Regions from separate parts of the Homo sapiens genome. Here region 2 is linked to region 1. The links are contacts of gene promoters, found by promoter capture Hi-C in human tissues and cell types (Jung and others, 2019). All regions are on one chromosome and are shown on one strand. Each heading gives the region's core, a stretch centred on a gene start or on the middle of the fragment in contact. The rest is flanking DNA. Distances are from core to core; before and after follow the strand shown.

Region 1 (6,865 bases), core at 3,092-5,591:
GAAGAAGAAAAGATTCTTGACTATCATAAACCAACAAAAGGAATGGTTTAACCATAAACACTGGGTTTCTTTGCACAGACAATTTGGGACAGTTTGGTAAAATCTTTTGTATAATTTTGGAAACGGACTTCAGATTAAACGATTAAACACACATATTTATCTTCATTCTCCCCTGAAAAGGATAGTAAAAGAACATGAAGGGATAAATCCAAAGGGGCAAAGAAGATAGAGGAGGAGTCATCAGCAAAAGCTATATTTCAACACAATTCTGAAGAATAGAGAGGGTCGATGGAGGAGTGAAAACTAGTTTAACAGAACAGTGAAAGCTACACTCTAATATGGCCATAGTGGTCAGTACAGAAAGAGCCCAATTCCCTACAAAACCCTAGAGTGGTCTGGGCCTTGGAGATGACAGAGATCACTAGAAGAAAATGCTGATGAGGGGCCCCAGGATCCCGGAAGGGTGAGGGAGAGGTGAGCAGCTAAAAGCAAGAGGCCAGGTCAATGTTGGCACTTGGAGTTGCTGGAGTCTCAGGTGCCCTGTCCCACTCCTCGCAGTCAGCATGAGAAAGAGGAGAGAGGCTTGTCCAGCAGGCACAAAGAAGGGCAGGAATAAGGCAACTGCCGGAAAGGAAAGAGTGTGAAAGATTGCACCCTAAGCAGTTACTCATCCAGACCTCTTCCCCTGAACTACTTCCAGAACACTGGCAGCCAAGTGAATGCCTCCTCAGGCAAGAGATTATAAGATATTTCTCATGAGAAACTGACAAGCCCCAAAGAAAAGACATCTAGCTTCTGACATTTGAGGTATCTTCCCATGAAAAAATGAGCTTTCATCTGATCACCATACAGCAAACCCACCAGTGAGCAAGCACATTTTTCTCACCCACATATAGAGTTTCTGGTGAGGTTTCTATTACCTCATTCCTACTTATGAAAGGAGAGGAAAAGGTTTGCAGACAGTTGATGAAAGCCTCTAACGTGATGGGACGAAAACAAATACATGAGAAGGGAAGCTAGAGAAAGCCAAGACAAGGCAGGAGGCAAAGAAAGCCCTACAGTAAGTAAATACTCTCAAAAGATAGAAAAAACTAGTGCGACTGTGACATAATCACTAAATTCTCTTTATAACAGACAGCATGAAATGAGCTCTTTAAATAGTTGAGGTAACAACTGCAGTAGAAAGTAAAGCAAGAAAATATCTTCCAAAATAGGACAAAAGGTGAAGACATGTGCAACAGGAAAAAAAAAAAAAAAAAGAACATTCTGAGATTAATCCAGTTTAAAAAATAAATAATAAGATTGAATAATAATTGAGAATTTAATAAGTGCCTGGTAATGTTCTAAGTGGTTCAGACATATTAGTGAGATAATTACTATTATAATCTCCATTTTATAGATGAGGAAACTGAAGCACAGCAAAATTAAGTGACATTCTCAATAGTAACACTGGAAGCTAGAAGATAAAAGAGCAATTTTTGCCTGTAATCCCAGCTACCTGGGAAGTTGAGTCAGGAGGATCACTTGAGTCCAGGATTTTGAGGCTGCAGAGAGCTATGACCATGTCACTGCACTCCAGGTGGTGTGACAGAGTAAGAACTTGTTTTTAAAAATTTAATTAATTAATTTTTTTAGAGACAAGGTTTTGCTCTGTAGCCCAGGCTGGAGTGCAGTGTCATGATCTTGACTCACTGCAGCCTTGACCTCCCTGGGGTCAGGCAATCTCCTCTCCTCAGCCCCCTGAGTAGCCGGGACTACAGGTGCACACCAGTATGCCTGGTTAATTTTTGTATTTTTTGTAGAGATGGGGTCTAGCTACATTGCCCATGCTGATCTTGAACTCCTGGACTCAAGTGATCCTCCTGCCTTGGCCTCCCAAAGTGCTGGGATTACAGGTGCAAGCCACTGTGCATGGCCTAAAAATTTTTTTTAATTAAAAAATTAAAATAAATAAGTGAAAAGCAATTTCTATAAAATTATGAATGAAGAAATTCTGGTAAGAATTCTACACTTGGTCAAACTCTAGTAAAAGTAAAAGTTGAATAAAGACATATTCAAGTATGTAATAACTCAAATTTTTACCTTCTGTACCCTTTCTTGGGCTGTTACTAAAACATGTGCCATGGAAAATGAAGCAGTAAACCAAGAAAGAAGGCACAAAACACAGAAATGGGGGTTCTCACACTACAGATTAAGGAGTGTCCCAGGCCGGGCACGGTGGCTCACACCTGTAATCCCAGCACTTTGGGAGGCTGAGGCAGGTGGATCACCTGAGGTTGGGAGTTCTAGACCAGCCTGACCAACATGGAGAAACCCCGTCTCTACTAAAAATACAAAATTAGCTGGACTTGGTGGTGCATGCCTGTAATCCCAGCTACTTGGGAGGCTGAGGCAGGAGAATCACTTGAACCCGGGAGGCAGAGGTTGTAGTGAGCTGAGATCACACCGTTGCACACTAGCCTGGGCAACAGAGAGAGACTCTGTCAAAAAAAAAAAAAAAAAAAAAAAAAGAGTGTCCCAGGATGACACTTGAGAAGCGGATCCATAGAGCAACTCATCTCCACTGAAACAGTAGAACAATGAATTTCTGGAGGAATTGTTTTCAGGGCAAAATTGGAATTGATTGTTTGATCATTTGGAAAATAAACATGATAGTCATTTGATAGATCAGTTGTAGAAAAATATCAGGATGGGGCATAACAAACTAAGTAAATAGATACAAGGTTTTATAAGGAAGAAAACAAGAATAGTACACTATTGGCTGTGTTGTCATTGCTATTGGCATAGTCACTTACTTAGCTCCTAAACTGTGAAAGTGCTGTGTTGGAAGGAGAAGTTGCTTGGCATGAAAGAGCTAAATCCTAATCTGAAGCAACAGGTAGTCAGAGCACAACATCTATTGGCAAATCAAGAGATGGCAGTACAAATTATTTAGAAATAGGGAGGTAAATGACAGAAGAGACAGATAAAAGCAGAATATGGCTGCCTCTAAAAAGGAGAGGAACATGATAGGTATTGCATTATCTTAAAATATTATATTAAAATAGTACCTGCATTGTCTTAAAATATATTATTTCTTTAAAGTGTGTGTTTATATTGTTTTTTAAAAATACAATTTTGAAATTTATTGTTGAAAATGGACACATGGAACAAACCAAACCTTGTTTTATCATGTAATTTTCAGAAAATATGTGATCCATAAAGATTAAAAGAAAGTTGTATTAAGTCTGGCAGCTTTAGTATTAACTTGAAATAAAATATGGCAAGCTTTCCACGTCCTCCTTTATTTCCACAATCCATATGTACGAGCTAGATTCCAGTCAGAACTTCCACAAATACTTCACTCTTTGGTAGCAGCGGTTATAAATTACGCCTTTGCTAATTTGCGTTGTTCCCAACCAGGAGAAACATTACCACAAAAAAAGTCAGTTTCATCCTGCAGTGTTCCCGCAGCAACCATATTAAGCTGGAAGAATAAAGCTCCTTTGTAGTAGTAGCGTCTATTGAATTACAATGTAAATGTTGATGCCTGCCTGGAAACGTCAAATGACAACAGGTTTACAGAACGAATTCAGTGGTTGTTTGCAGCTCTGGAATCCCAGGCTGCAGAGTTGAGATCGAAGAGGTGCGTCTGGCCATCTTAGCGTTCATTCAACCAAATCTCCTCACTCCATCAAAACCACGCCACTCCCCACCTGCCCAGCTCGTAAAAGGATGCTCACCTGTTTGAAAATCTGTAATATATCTGATGTCTTTTACACAGCAGGACACGAAAAAGTGTTTGTTGTGGATAAGAGTGTTAAAAATTCAATTACGCAACAGACCAAACTTTGTGCTTCTTTCCCCCTCTCAGCACAAAGTAACTTTAGTCCCGTCCTCTTCTGCCACTGTCAAACAGCCCTGTTACTGTGGGCATTAAATGCCTTGTGGCGTACTGCGCATTTGATTCTGGTTGACTTGGGATACCTGAGCTCGGCTCTCATTAGCTCTTCCGCTCGACCCACAATCCCTAGTGTTTGCAGGTGTTGCATTCCCCCAACCCCTTTCTTCTCTTCAACCAGTAGCCTCCACCTTCCCATCCCTGCTTTGGAGAAGGAGGAAAACGCAGCTTGAGATCTACTCGAAGAACTGACCCTCAGCTCTCACAGGCTGCCGCCGAGCTGCAAGCATGCCGCCGCTCCACTCGGGTAAACTTCGGAGTGAGTTACCTGCACTCGGAGAAGGGCCTTACCTGAGCGCGCCTCTGCCAATGGCAGCTCACCTGAGGGAGCTCCCCAGCCAATCATCGCGCAGCTCGTCCCTCGGGCTTGTACCCTTTAGTGAAAGAATTCAGCTCCTTGCGAGAAAGTTACCTGTGGCCGCCCAAGTCCGCCACTTTCTGCTCTGTGTCTGCCCATTGCCACGATCCAGGAGGACTCCGCGCCGCCCGGCCGCCTCCGAGCTCGGGCCCCATGTGAGGGGCCCCCCCTTATCCCACCTTTCCGGCTAGGTGAGGGCGCGAGCGGGCGAGCGAGCGAGAGTGGTGAGGGGGGACGGAAAAGCAGAATTACCTGTAGCTCTTGTTCTGCCATCTCGGGCGCTCTCACACACCTTCACCTGCACAGACTTGAAAGTCCAGTTTCACCAGAGGCTGAGGCTCCAGGAAAAGCGGAGCAAGTTCATTGGATCAAACATGTCACAAGAGTCGGACAAGTAAGTGGATCACACGCGCCGGCTGCTGCTACTACTACCACTTTGGGCTGATGGCAACTGGTTTGTTATGTTTTTGTTTTTAAGTTGCTATTGTTGGTATTTTTCTTTCTTTTTTCTTTTTCTTTTTGGTGGATCCAGACTTTTCCGCATTATGTTTCTACCCTGATTAAGGGGAGAAACCCTACAACAATGTGAATATTTAATATCCCCTTTGGGCCTTGATAGTAAAAGTGGGTTTTCCTTTTCCTTCTTCCCTTAGGAATGGTCTCAGCTCCCGCTCCTGGATGAATACTTGGATATTGCCAGAGGTTTTGGTAGATGGGCGCGGGAGGCCTGCTCTTCCCTCTCTGTTTTAGCTGCTCCCACCGATCTGGCGTTTAGGGCCATTTGGAAGTTCAGCTGAGTTCCTTCGATTTGTCCAAAGGGCCTACTGGAAAAGTGGGGCTTGGCCGCTTTTGTGTGACCGCAACAAAGAGCTTTTATATGAGGCAGAAACGGCCATCTTCTCGCACCGGGCAGGAGGGTGGGCGTGAGTGCGCGCCCGCGTGTGGCCCCGATGGGAGGCGAGGCGCTGGGAGGCCGGGGGGCGCGGGGGCGGCCGGCGCCGTCCCCCACTCCCTCGACATCCCGCCTTCCTCCCCCCTCCCCCGCCTCCCTCCCCCGGGTCCGCCCCCGCATTGTTTGGCCACCTTCCTCAGGTGCCCGGGGGGAAAGGACGGTTCGCGAACTGGGGGAACTCATGTGAGGCCTCGAGTTAGGGCCTCGGCGGGGCGCGAAGGGGCGCCTGCCACTGAGCGATTCACCCGCGCCCCCGACGGCGTCTGCACGCCCCTCGAGCTCGCGGCCCTCCACGCAGTTGGCCGCCACCTCGGACGCGGCAGGCGGGACTGCGTGGGGCGCGCCGAGCCTTCTCGGGGTGCTCTCGCCGTCAAGGCCGAGGGCTCGGGGCGGCGGGAACGCTGGGCTCGCGTCCTTCCCGTCCCGGACAGGCACTCCAGACGCGTCGGGGAGCCACAGCCTGCGCGGCCGGAGCCGCCCGCGGGTCACTGGGCCCGGTCCGGCCGCGTCCTGACGGCCTCCCCCCTGGCCGGCCCCCGCCCTCGGAAGGCTTTGTGCGAGCCGGGGGAGGTGGGGCCTGGGCGGGCGCGGGAGGGAGCCGGAGGTGGGTCCCGCGGCCTTTCTCGGGATTCGGCGGGGACACTCCCTTCCCCCTCCTCTCGGGCGCGTCCGGGCCTGGGAACTGGCTGCGTCCTATTGGAAGTGCGCGGGGCCGCCCTTTTGCTTTCCCCGGTAACTTTGCCGTGGCGTTGCGGCCACCCCGAGGGGACCTTCCTGAAGGTGTCTCGCCGGAGAGGGCCGGTGCCCCAAGGCCGCGGGCCGCTGGGCCTGTCATGGAGAAGTGGCGGGGACCCGTCCCAAGTTGAGGGACCACGAGGGAGGAGTGGGAAGGCCCTGCGGACCTGTTCAGGGGTGGAGGGGAAGGACTAGCCTCAACATAAAGCCGCTGGCAGGTTAGGCGAACCTAAGAAAATGCGCTGTCATACTTAAAAAGCAAAAAACTGCCAGATAGTTGTACCCCGTTAGCCACCGATGAGGAATTAACCGAGTACAGCATACCGGAGGGGAAGAACTAGCGTTACCAACACGGGAGCGGGTCAGAGGCAGGGTAGGAAGAGGAGAGTGTGTGGTTGTCTGAGAACACCCCCAGCTCCTCCCCATATCTCTCTAGTCTTCAAGGAAACACGACTCGAGTTTGAAATTTTCAGTAGCCAAATCCGGAGGCGACAGCAAGTTTTTGGGGTTTGTTTTGATCTTTGCCTGCGTCAAAGATGATTGCAAATCTAATTTAATTAATCGCGCAATTAACATTTAGTTTGCTTAGTTTTGTGATACAACAGAACTCGAATTCTGAATGAAAACGGGTCGGTCTTTATTTTCACCAGTTATACTTAGCAGCAATAAGAACAATGTGTTTACCATCAGAAATAAGTACTGAGCGCCCGCAATCTGGTTTCACCACACGCATCACCTGGTTTTTACAGGTGATAAGTATCTGGGATTACATATGCTTGCATTTAATGAACGTTGCTTTTATCTAGTCGTGGTTTCCAAGACGAAATTTTGTATCCTGGGAAAAGTAATCGTTACAATGGTGCAAGGAGATAATTCAACT
Region 2 (6,865 bases), core at 2,530-5,029, 620 kb after region 1:
AGACAATAATTAGGAGATTATCTTTTTTAAAAGCAGGCACAGAAGAAAGTTTATAAATAGGTACCTAGTGTAAAGCAGGGTAACAAAGTGTAAAAGTAGGTCTCTATCTGATAAGAGGCCCTGGCCCATTGCCTCAAATTCAGGCCAAGAATCTATTAGAAGTGTTAAACATATTTTTGCCTATGTTTTTCAAATCTCATGTTTTTATTTCATAAACCAAAGGCAGACGAATACAAAATATGGTAGGCCGGCAAATTTTAAAAATGTATTTTGAAAACTGCCTTAAGTCCCACTTAAGTAGAATAACTATGTTTCTTTACCTGGATTGCCTAGGACAGTCCCCATTTGTGCCTGCTGTTTTGCTGTAATTACTGGAAAGTCCTCCCCTTTCACTCTCAAAAATGTCCCAATGTGAACAATAAATTATGTAGTCGTCTTATATTTAGCCAAGAAACATTTCTTGGCCAGTTATGATGTGCTACCTACTGGGTTGGGCACTTATATTAGTTTTTTAAAAGGTATGTAAGATAAGAACAATTTCAGAACAATCTACTTGAAAAGACAGAAATAGCACCCCAAACAACCGTGAATCAGTGAAAACTTGATAATCATTGGTGTAGTCTAGGCTGTCAGTGCCTTAGTTCAGATCAGAGAAGAGTAGCGAGTGTATCCCCTCAAGGGGGTCACTCCGTAGAACTAATGCTAAAAGCAGCAATGCTTCTCGAGCACTTCCTGTGTGCCAGGCACTATGACAAGCATGATGCCCACGTGATCTCGCTTCATGCTCAAAACAGCCCTGTAAGTGAAGGGCTGTCATTCGCTCATTTTATGGATGAGATGACTTCCCCAAAGTCAGGCCAGAGAATTCAAATGTCTAGCTCTCAAACATACGTTCTCCACCACTGTAGATGTGGAGGTACTGCCTTCTGATCACCCATCCCTACCAGGAGCTGGCCCAGCAGAGTCACGTGTTATCACAGCCATCAGCTTCTCTCTTTCTGCCCTGCAGCAGAGCAAGCTGTGGCCAAACTCTGTCCAAGGGTTACCAAATCAGTTAAAGCCCAACCAGAAAACTAAAGAGGCTGCTCTTGAATCCTACAGAGGAGTCCTACTGAAGAGGCTATTGAGAAGAAAGTCATACAGGGGTTCAGGAAAGCAATGAAGGATGATGCAGGACTCTAAGGCTAGTAATAGCAGGAAGCCATGACCACCCTAGGCCTGAAGGCATGAGGGGAGGAAGTGGCTGAAGGAACCCAAAGAGGGTGGCGATATGGAGAGGATAGCTGCAGGCGCTGTGGTCTTTAGCACACACACACCAAGCTGCAGCTTGCAACCCAGTGGAGGGACAGGGGAATAAATACCCTACCTCACTCTCCTCCCACCCTCCCGTCTCCTGCTGATTTCTGGCCAAATTATACCAGAAGTCAGAAGAAAAGATGGCCATTGACGCCAGTGGTAAAGATCACCTCTTGGGGCACAGAGCCAGGTGGAGAAGGGAGCCAGGGATGTGGAAGGGCCAACAGGAGATATCCAGGCCTCTTACTGCCCTTGCCCTACAGAAGAGCTGTGCTCCAACCAAGGCAGAGGAAACTGGCCTGGTCACTCTTTGGGAGTTAAGGTGCCAGGTAGGTAAAAGGACACCATCCTCAGCATATGCACAAAGCCAGGGCCAGTTTCATGAGCATGTGACCTGTGCCATCACACAGGCCCCATACTCAGCAGGGCCCCATGCTGGCATTAATCCTCCACTAGCACCATCTTCAAATTCTTAATTTTTTTAAACAAAGTTCCCACACTTTCATTTTGTTGTGAGCCCCACAAACTGTGTAGTTGGTCCCCTGCAAGGCAAACCTTTTCTTCAGGTAGTGAGACTAAATTCTGTAAGTATCACAGTATTCCGATACACTGTTAAAGCAAAAGGATCCAAAGTTAATATTAACCAGAGTAACAATGATACAGTAGGATAGGTAAGATGGTAACATGAAGGGGCACTTTACCTTTTTTTCTTTCCTTCCTCTCTTTTAAAGTCAAACTGTAAAGCAGCTGAGAAACCAAAATTAGCTGCCCCCTAGAGAGAAACTGACCTTAATTACACCTGCTACTCCATAGCACAGACTGAATGGATTTTGGCTCTTCCCCAGTTAATGCGATCAATGCAGACAATAAAACAGAATAATTGATGCCCTGGAGTGGACTTTTCTGATACACCTCATTTGATGGACTACAGTCATCGAATTCTCCAGGCCATTGCCAAAGCTACTCTTTACCTTGCCTTATGTGCCCGATGTACACAGGCCCTACTTTGGGGCTCACTGTTGAAAATACATAAATAAAAGACGTGCGGATGGGTCAATGGCATTCACAAACAATATTTGTAGTGGATGCTTCCTGAAGCATGGGCTTAGAAACTTGAGTCTCTGCTGCTTCTGCTTCCCTTTCCTGAAAGACTCCAGCATCCTTAGCCTTCCTCTGAGAAATTATATTTCTAAAAGCATCTGGGAAAGCCCCAGGTGAGAAGCCTGAACAGGACCAGTGGCAGCTCTTTTTCCCATTCATTTCCTTCAATGCCATCCAGCAAAGCAAAGCCCAGAAAACGTTTAGCTGAGACAGGGATCAAACTGGCTTCTGACAGCCTCTTTCACACCCCTTTATTTCAGAAGTAAAGGACGGTAGATTTTAAGTGTTTGTTTATTTTGTTGTTTAAAGTTAGAATAAAGTTGCAAATGATCAAATCAAAAGCATTTAGAAAACCTCTACTGTGTCAGAAGGGGAACATCACACACCGGGGCCTGTCGTAGGGTGGGGGGAGGCGGGAGGGATAGCATTAGGAGATATACCTAATGTAAATGATGAGTTAATGGGTGCAGCACAGCAACATGGCACATGTATACATATGTAACAAACCTGCACGTTGTGCACATGTACCCTAGAACTTAAAGTATAATAAACAAAAACAAAAACAAAAACAAACAAAAACAAAAACCTCTACTGTGTGTCAAGGAACCTAGAATCCAGACAGTAAATCAAATCTAGGGGCACCGTAACAGAGTCAGAGAATCCATAGTTGCCGTGTATCCTAACTACTGAGCTCTGTCATGGATTGAATGGTGGTGACCCCCAAAAAAAGTATGTCCAAGTGTCCAAGACTTTTTTGGGTTTCTTTTGTAGGGTGGTGGTGTTGTTGTTTTGAGACAAGGTATCGCTCTGTCACCCAGGCTGGAGTGCAGTGGGGTCAACATGGCTCACTGCCGCCTCCACCTCCCGGGCCCAAGAGATTCTCCTACCTCAGCCTCCCGAGTAGCTGGAACCACGGGTGCATGCCAAGAGGCCTAATTTTTTTTCTTTTACTTATTTTTATCTATTTATTTATTTTTTGGTAGAGATGGGGTCTCACCTTGTTGGCCAGGCTGTTTTTGAACTCCTGGGCTCAAGCAATCCTCCTGCCTCGACCTCCCAAAGTGCTGGGATTACAGACATGAGCCACTGGGCCTGGCCATAACCAAGCTTTAACCCCCGGAACCAGTGAATATGACCTTATTTGGAAAAAGGGTCTTTGCAGATGTCATAAAGGATCTTGAAATAAAATCATTCTGGATCACGCAGCTGGGTTCTAAATCCAGTGACAAATGTCTTTATAAAAGATGCGCAGAGGAGAGACACACAGAGAAGAGCAGGAAGCAATGTGACGTGCAGCGCAGCTCTAGTGATGCAACCTCATGCCCAAGAATGCTGCAGCTACCAGAAGCTAAAAGAGGCAAAGGATGAAGTCGCCCCTAGAATCCCTGGAGGAAGCACGGCATTTCGGCCTCAGACTTCTAGCCTCCGGAGCCGTGAGAGGATAAATATCTGTTGCATTCAACCACCATTTTGTGGTCATTTGTTTCAGCGGCCACAGGAAACAAATATAAGCTTACAGCCCCATCTCTCACCTGTGGCCTCAGCTTCACAATCTCCGGCCAGGGACTATATGAAGCCTTCCAAAGCAGCCCATTCCGTGTTCACAGTAGGCCTAGTTCTGGCCCCAGATGAGTCTAATCCCTTTCCCTCAGTACAGTGCTTTCATGTATGTGAAGAAAAGAATATAAAAGTCCCACAGAGCGATTCCAGGCCAGAGAGTCCCAGCTACTGTCCTCGGCATCCGCCAGCTCATGAGAAATCCCCTTAACTTGTACCAGTCAGGGCAGCACAGAGGGAACGATCCTCTCCCTTCCTTTGAACAGTATTCTCTTATTGCAGCCCAAGGTCTCACTAATGTTTAAACAGCCAGGTGACACTGTCAACTCCGTTGGCACTTTCAACTCAAAAAAAAAAAAAACGCAACTTACATCTTTTTCATGTGTAGCAAATGTGATTCAAGGACATGTTGTCACTCCCATCAAGTATATGGAAAATATTCTTTTTATCTAAACACAATGAATCAAGTATGAAATATGCCTGCAAAGTACATTATTTTTGTAAAAAGTGGGGGATCTGAGCAGGCACCCACACCACCTATTGACAGCCAAGCCAAGTTTGTACACATCAGATTATTTCCAAAGAACCAAAACACACAGGTTGGGGAAAACGTAACCTTCCAGATCCAGCTGCATATACAGAAGAAATGTGCTGATGATCTCTGATTATTTGTCAGTCTTCAGATTTCAGCTCCATAACCTGCACTAGCTCCCAATGTTGGTAAATCATTCAACCTCTCAATGCCTCGGTTCACTTACCTGTAAATTGGGGATAATTAGAACACTACTTTGTGTTGGCTACTATGGACTACAAGATAGTCCCACATCAACAGGCCTTCTTGCTGTCTGGCTGTGGCTAGTTTGGCCAATTGGGAGGCACCAGCACCAGATCAGAGAGTGGAAGAGAGTGGCTGGGGCCTTTATCCACCTGGATGCCTCCCCACCAGGCCACAATGGGCAGTAGTCATATTCCTCTACTGAAAACCACAGCTCCAGCCAGCAGCCCTGTCCCCTGAACAACTCCAGAAACTGCTCTCTCACCTCATGCTGTCAGGGCTGGGTAGTGAAGGCTTGCATGCACTGCTGGCCACTTCTGGTGGGTTCCCTGATCTTACCCGCACCTTTGTAAATAGTCCCTTCATTAACTTTCCTCAGTTACTGCCTTCTGAGCAGTTCATCCGCCTCCTTATGGGATGCTGGAGGAGGAATCTTTCATAGGATTTAGCAGAATTAATCAATACTTGAATCGCCTTTAGGCATTTGCTAGCATGAGTGCTATTATTAGCAACAGTAGTCTACTTCTGTGAGGAATCCTGGGCCATGAGATCTCTCGATGCCGTATTTACATTTCCTCCCCAAGTTCAGTACCATTTACTAGAGATAGACATATTTTCAGTTGTACAGATGTGGGGAAAACTATTATGTTCTCTCATCTAAATAATTAAAATAACTTCTCTGCTGCTTTCCTCTTCTCCCCACCCCCTCTCTAACGTCCAAACCTTCCGATCATGCCATTATCACAGGCAACAAATATCCAATGGTTCCCCATGACCCTAGAATGAAGTTTAAACTCTACCACTATTTCTCACAATTCAATTCCAACCTACCTTCAAGAATGTGTTCAACATTTCACACCTACTAGCATGGCTATTATATTAAAAGAAAAAACAGAAAATAACAAGTGTTGATGGAATCCTTGTGCATTGCTGGTGGGTATGTTAAATGGTACCACCGTGGAAAACAGTGGATGTTCCTCCAAAACTTAAACACAGAATTGCCATATAACTCAGCATTTCCACTTCTGGGTATATACCCAGAAGAACTGAAAACAGGGAGTTGAACATATCACTGTACACCCATATTCACAGCAGTGTTTTCACAGTAGCCAAAAGATGGAAGCAACCCAAACGTCCATCAGCAGATGCATGGATAAACAAAGTGTGGTACATACATACAATGGAACAGTATTCCACCTTAAAAAGGAAAGAAATTCTGCCCATGTTACAACACGGATGATCTCTGGGGACATTATTATAAGTGAAATAGGCCAGTCACAAAAAAGACAAATACCTTTTATATGAGGTACCTAGAGTAGTCAATTCATAGAGACAGAAAGTAGAATAGTGGTTGCCAGAGGTTGGAAGGGAGGAGGAGATAGGAAGTTAGTGTTTAGTGGAAACAGAGTTTCAGCTGGGCAGGATGAAGAAGTTCTGGAGATGGATGGTGGTGATGGTTGCACAATAATGTGAATGTATTTAAAGCCACTGAACTGTACGTTTAAGAATGGTTAAAATGGTCAATTTTATGTTATGTATATTTAACCACAGTTTTTTAAAAGGTTGTATTCAAGAAATATTTATTGCTTGCCTATGGCACAAAGCACTGTACTGGGGCTGCCTCAGGAAACAAAATGCAAGACCACCATCCCCAGGAAGGGAACTTACCTCCTGCACATTCCCCTACCTGCTCCAGATTCTAGTCAATCCCTTCCCTAATTATGTCTTGCACTTTCACATTAGAATATAAATTCCTAAAGACAGGGGACTAGATCTTATTCAGCCTGTATCCCTACAACCTAACAGAATGCTGAGCATGTAGAAACTGCTCAAGAATATTGGTCAAATAGTTGAGTAAAAATCCAGGCAGAGACGTCTATGTCATTTTTCTCATGTCTTCTAGCCAGTCAGAACTTAAAATTTCTTGAAGTTATATAGCTATACTTGCAGGAATAGAGAGGCTAGAGCTTCACACTAAGCTCACTAAACTCACTTTAAATACTCTGTTCACAAGTAATTCTACTAAGTGCATAAATTGTGGATTTCAGATGAGAACTCCACTATTTACTGACCATGTGACCTTGAGCAAATTATTGCGTGCTTCTAACGCTGTTTCTCTTATCTATGAAGAGGGAA

What was found. Contacts are between HindIII fragments. The study calls those that stand out against the background at their distance.
Region 2: a contact is called between a fragment that was not itself captured here and the fragment with the promoter of GRHL2 in region 1, in 2 of the 25 tissues and cell types used here (heart right ventricle and lymphoblastoid cells).

Annotation. Positions count from the first base shown.
Region 1 is chr8:101,488,098-101,494,962 of GRCh38, forward strand. It overlaps GRHL2 (grainyhead like transcription factor 2), which reads left to right and starts at 4,342. Exons shown (of 16, transcript NM_024915.4): 1 at 4,342-4,692. The coding sequence starts at 4,673. It overlaps GRHL2-DT (GRHL2 divergent transcript), which reads right to left and starts at 4,608. Exons shown (of 2, transcript NR_186782.1): 1 at 4,353-4,608. RefSeq lists an enhancer at 4,360-4,888. The HindIII fragment of the contact is 12,677 bases long and covers 439-6,865 here.
Region 2 is chr8:102,113,313-102,120,177 of GRCh38, forward strand. It overlaps a transcript of NCALD not described here. Among named protein-coding and RNA genes, the nearest start is that of MIR5680, 8.7 kb to the right of the region's middle. The HindIII fragment of the contact is 4,908 bases long and covers 1,326-6,233 here.